2 separate regions of the Homo sapiens genome follow, and region 1 is linked to region 2. Evidence: promoter capture Hi-C in 16 types of primary human blood cells and fetal thymus (Javierre and others, 2016). All regions are on one chromosome and are shown on one strand. The core of a region is centred on a gene start or on the middle of the fragment in contact, and the rest is flanking DNA. Distances in the headings are between cores, read along the strand shown.

Region 1 (2,747 bases), core at 2-2,501, 960 kb after region 2:
TCCAACCAGCCTTCATTTTCTTCGAGAGTGTGCATTCCAGGTTTTCCCTTTCACAGAAGGGAAAACAGAGGCTTTGAGAGTCAAATCCTTTTCTAGAGTCTCTTAGTAGGTTCATGGCACAGCCAGGTCTAAGCTCTGGTCTCCTGGTACTTGGTCCCGGCATGTCACACTCCCAAGGAGGTTCAGACTTTGAAGACAAAGCAAAAGGCATTGATGGCTGTGCTGTGGGCCTGGCTTAGTCTTCTCAGGCTACTATAACAGGACACTACAGATGGGAGGGCCGACAGGCAGACATTTACTTCTCACTGTCCTGGGTGCTGGAAGTCCAAGATCAAGATGCCAGCAGAATTGGTGTCTGGTGAGGGCTCTCTTTCTGGCTTGAAGACGGCTGCCTTCTTGCTGTGTCTCACGTGACAGACAGACAGGGGGTGGGGGTGGGGGCTCTGGTGTCTCTTCTTGTTCTTACAAAGACCCTAATCACATGATGGGGCCCCCCATCCTCATGACCTCATCTAACCCTAACACCTTCCAAAGGTCTCCTAAAACCTTCATCTTGGGAGTTAGTTAGGGCTTCAACACAGAATTCAGGGGGACACGGATATTCCGTCCATACCAGGGCCCCGCACCTTCTCTGCCCTTTTCCTCTCTGCATGTCCCATGAGTCTGACTCTGGCCTTCTCTGTGCAGGAGAAGCTCCTGACGGAGCGGGAGGTGGCCGCCCTGCGGAGTCAGCTGGAGGAGGGCCGGGAGGTGCTCTCCCACCTGCAGGCGCAGAGAGTGGAGCTGCAGGCACAGGTACGCTCGAGTCTGCCGCGTGTGCATTGGGGCTTCCCACATGTTTCATGGAGGTGTTACGCGCAGGCACACGCATGCAGCTTGAGGAGCTGTCACACGCTGAACATATCCTATGTTCCTGGCAGAAACGGGGTTTTCTGAGTGGGTGGCCAAGCGCTCTGCTCTGGCCTGGACTGAGGAGTTTTCCAGGACACAGGGAGAGTCCTGAGCTGGGGGACACAGGTGCCACGCTCATTCCTGGCCCCTCAGAGGTGCCCCTTGGGACTCCTTCGAGTCATGCCCTCCCCACCGAGTCTTAGGCTTAGGCTGCCCCAGTGTCTACATCATGCATTCATTTTGCCCAGGTCAAGCTTCGTAAGAATAAGAAGAAACGGACACCATAGGGATTTTTATCCTCCACTTGTTCAAATCTGTGCTTCTGTTTTCCTTCTCATGGTAACAGTTCTCCTTCGGAATTTGATTACAACCCGGCAAGAGTGGTTGTATCAGTGTTTGCTTCTAGTTAGAAACGTGTTGGTGGAAAGCTCACATTTCTACCCCCACCCCTTTTGGGTGAAGCTTAATTTGAAAACAAAACAGAAAAGCCCCAAACTGTCCTGTGGCCTGTGCCTTCTTGGCTACTTGCCGGCTCATCTTCTTTGTTCCTTCCGGTTCTCTCTCTTTCTCATTACCCTACAGCAGGTCATTCCACAGGGACGCTTGGGTTAAAATACTGCACCTTTGTATGGCTCTCTAACCACATTTCCCAAACCAAAAAGTAAGTTGACATTTGGTTTGACAAGTACACATGGGGACAAGAGAGCAAAACGTGTAAAAATCGGACACTTCAGAAAGCCTGGACCATTTGGATGTTATGTGTTACTCTGTCTAAAAATGTGAAGCCACAACTAGATGTAGCGCTTTTTATTGATTTCCAGTGCCCCCATGTCTGCTCAGGATTTCATTTTGGGACCTTGGAGTTCACATCCTAATTCCCATCCCAGCACGCACCACACAAAACTCACAGTGCAGCAGCTCTCAGGGGCTGCTGGAAAGCAAACCCGGGTCTGTGGTGGTCCCCTGAACTGACGATCGCAGCAGGAGGAACCAAGTAAGGCACTTAAAACTCCTCCTTCTTGTGAGACAAACCCTGGCTCAGGGACCATGTGCCTCATCCTGGTGACTGGGGCCTGTGTGGTTTCTTCTGAGGCTCTGACAGGATAGAATAAGGGTTGTATGTGTTTGTGTACATGGGGTGTGTGTGTGTGATATACATGGTATGTGTGATATATGTGGGATGTGTATGTGAAGTGTGTGTGGTGTGTGTGTGTCATGTGTATGTGTGTGTGCTGTGTATGTGAATAGGGACGTGGATACAAGCCCAGTCGTGGTCCTAGAGACCAGTGTTTTCCAAATGGCTAGTGACAACTCATTTTTGGATGTAAAATGAACTCAGTAGAATTGACTGGCATGTAAAAGGAAGTCAACAAAATGCTAGACTAAAATATAATAAGAAAAACAGAGTGTACAGCAAGTGAAAGGGAGGATTTGTTTTGTGAAGCCCTTGTTTTATCTCTCTATATCCATATGGATATGTTGAAATACACACACACACACACACACACACACACACACACCTACCTATCTGATGTGTATGGCTCGCAATGAGAAATGTGGTTTTTCCTGGGGCGGTGGTGATAAAGTTGAAAACCACTGCCCTAGAGATACTGAGAAAGATGAAGGAGCCCAGCCTAGATGGCAAATTCCAGTTCCAGGACAAAAAGAATGTTCCTCTCTTTATGTACAGGTATTTGTTGAATATCAAAATAAGAAATTTCACAACAGATTAACCTGGTTTCTGAGAACATGAAATGAAACCGCTGGTTGGCCGCCTGTTTCTGTCCTGAGTGGCTGCAGGAGGACTTCCTGGCTTTTCCCTGCTGCCCTCGTCTCTAAAGCAGGGTCTCAAACAT
Region 2 (2,952 bases), core at 1-2,500:
CATGGTGAAACCCCGTCTCTACTAAAACATAAAAAATTAGCTGGGCGTGGTGGCGCGAGCCTGTAGTCCCAGCTACTCGGGAGGCTAAGGCAGGGGAATCGCTTGAACCCGGGAGGCGGAGATTGCAGTGAACCGAGATCGCGCCACTGCACTCCAGCCTGGCGACAGAGCGAGACTCTGTCTCACAAACAAACAAATAAAAATAAAAGTGGCAGAGGCTTTGGGTGTCCTAAAAGTCTTGAGTTCAATACTGCACTGAAACCACCTGGCTTAATGTTACTTCGTAATCACCAACTGCGCCCTAACTCCGCCTAAACGTTTTGTCATAGACGTTCCCTTAGTGACAAGAGCGATCCTGGATCAGAACATGTATTCACAAGTGTTCTACAGGGAAAGAAAGCCGAGGGCTCCTCTCAAAGCACTGATCGCGTCAAAGTAGGAAGGCAGCACGTCATCACAACTTCCCCAAAAGTATCAGGGCAAAGCCAGCCAGCTACACAAAGTTGCAAGCTGTCAAACCCATTTTGAACTTCTTGAGTTCTGCTCTCCCAGGATGGGAAGGAACAAGTGGGTCCAGAACCCCGCAATCGTTTTTCCCGCGTGCTCACCTAACCCGCTCCGGCCACTCCCAAGGGATCCCGGAGAAGGGGTCCAGCTGCCCAAATGACTGGGCGCCTGATGGAGTGCCAAGCCGGAGCCTCACTGGTTTACCTGTTTTCTATTTCGACCGGATCCGCGTCAGGCGGCTGCACCTTCACCTTCACCTCCGCCATGAGGGCGCAGTTCCTGACGCCTGGGGGGAAAGATGCACGGAGCAGCCCGGTAGCAAGCCGGGGAACCCGGGGAACCAGTGGAGGATAGCGCTCTGCTGAGGCCGAGGGGCCTTCTTCCTCGTGTCGCAGCCGGTCCTTCCTTGCCTTTCGGCGGGAGGTGGCCAAGCTGCGCCTGCTCCGGCCCACTTACAGGCGCCGCTACAGCTTCTTATTCTTGTTTTCCAGAATGTCAATGCCCATCGGACGCACAAGCCTGGTTCCTTCATTCTGAGTTGGGAAACCAACTTTTAGCACTTGGCAACTCTGTGAAGGAATATTCTTAGATGCCTATGGGAAAGCACTGGGAAAGGAACTCCAGGCGGGTACCAGGCTCCCTGCGGAGCGGCAGGGGCCGGTCTAGTTGCTAAGAAGCTGAGTCTCCACCAATCATCTGCCCAGCACCCAGTGGGCGGGGCGCGGCTCGCCGCGTCTGTGGTAACCCGGGCGGCGGCGAAGGAGGAGGCAAGAGGCGGTGAGAGGCTGGCGACTGGGTTGGGCGCGGCAGAGATGCATTAGGGGTCCCGATCCCGGGCCCCGCGGTTAGAGGAAGAGGAGGGCGGCTAGAGGAGGGGAAGAGCTTCCCTTACTCCAGCCGAAAGGATGCAGGTGTCCTTGGCAGCCCCTGATGGGCGGGAACAACCAAACGGGATTCCGGATCCGGGCTGCGAGGGGGCGGTCCACGTTGGGAGAGTTGAGGGGTCTGGGGATCCTGTTGACTGCACGTTGCCATTTGGGCCTGGCGGATCCGCCTTTTTTCTTGATTCCCTTTGCGTGGGGCCCACTGGCCACCCCAGCTTCCTAAGGGCAGCTGCTAGTTGACGCTCGCGAATTACTTCCTCTCCTACATATTTTTTATTTAGAATTTTTCAACTACTTTTATTTTATCTGCCTTTCACTTAAATGGAAATGCGACTATGGGCAAGTCTCAAGTCCAGCCACACTCCCGTAGGAGCTATTGTTGTGCTGTCAGTATCTGTAGTTTATATTCTTGGCCCTAGATCCGGAACTATCCAACAAGGCATTAAGTTCACCCCTTAAATTTAGGTACCCCATTTTTGAGAATACAGTCTGTGACAAAGCTCAAACTGCAGACATGTTCAGATCAGCATTATTAGAACTGCAACAGGCAAAACTAAAAAGAAACTAGAAATAGCCTAAATGCCCAGCCACAAATGGATAAATAAGTACAGGGAAAACTAAATAATACAGTGAGAATGCAAGAAGTAGACTATAAAAATGGAATGAATATGTAGATTATAATTGGGCAAAATCTATGGATTATTAATGAAATTTGAAAAGGCAATACAGAGATGTAAATGGTTGTTGTGTTAAGGTGAGCGTTTTTTCCCCCTGAAACCTTCTGTGCATTAATTATGACAACCTTCCTCCCCACCCTCACCTCCAAAAAGACCAGTAAGGCTTTCATACTGGTAGTTAATTATTAATACCAGGATTTATAAATACAGTAGATGAAACGGGAGGCTTGTGTTTATTGGTCACTGTTTATATTCTTGCAAACTTCCTTTCCACTGAGAAGTAGTACTCTGCAGTCCTTCTAAAGTGTCTTTGCAGCTTTCAAATACTAGAACTGCTCTGGTGATAATGGCAAGGCTGTGAACCCGGAGCTTTCCCAAAAAAGTTAGCTCTAACTAACATTTTGTGGTACACACAGAATTACTTCTGTTCCCCTTGTATGATGACTTGCCCTGAAGCCAAGAGAGCTGACACACACCAGAGGCAGGAAAAGGCGATAATGATTTACAGGGAACTCAAGTCAGAGCGTTAGTGATAGTCTCTGTTTTGCCTTACTCATTTAATTTGTCCTTTTAAAGTAACTTCTTTCTTTTCCCCATCTCATTCATTCATGCTCCTTTCGCAGAAGTGAGGTATTTAGATAATCAAAACCCCACACAAGACCTCAACAGCAAATACAGATGAAATGTAATTATTATTTCAATTAAAAAGGGAATAATATTTGTAGTGCCATGTTAACAGTATTCTCTCGTTTTAACTAGTTTTGCTGCATTTAAATTAAGTGCTGCTCTTCAGCTTTTGTGTACATTGGAATTTATATGTATATATATATAGAGAGAGAGAGAGAGAGAGAAAATGACTGCTGGTTCAGTGTGTGTCCCTCAGA

What was found. The method cuts DNA at HindIII sites, captures the fragments that hold promoters and counts their contacts. A CHiCAGO score of 5 or more calls a contact.
Region 1: a contact is called between a fragment that was not itself captured here and the fragment with the promoter of DZANK1 in region 2, in 1 of 17 cell types (total B cells). The highest score is 7.6, in total B cells.

What each region holds. Positions count from the first base shown.
Region 1 is chr20:17,506,937-17,509,683 of GRCh38, reverse strand. BFSP1 (beaded filament structural protein 1) reads left to right here. Exons shown (of 8, transcript NM_001195.5): 5 at 688-795. Among named protein-coding and RNA genes, the nearest start is that of BFSP1, 23 kb to the left of the region's middle. The HindIII fragment of the contact is 208 bases long and covers 1,148-1,355 here.
Region 2 is chr20:18,465,328-18,468,279 of GRCh38, reverse strand. DZANK1 (double zinc ribbon and ankyrin repeat domains 1) reads left to right here and starts at 1,250. Exons shown (of 21, transcript NM_001367614.1): 1 at 1,250-1,284; 2 at 2,903-2,952. The coding sequence starts at 2,922. POLR3F (RNA polymerase III subunit F) reads right to left here and starts at 890. Exons shown (of 9, transcript NM_006466.4): 1 at 712-890. The coding sequence starts at 773. RefSeq lists enhancers at 810-1,129, 752-1,370. The HindIII fragment of the contact is 20,751 bases long and covers 1-2,952 here.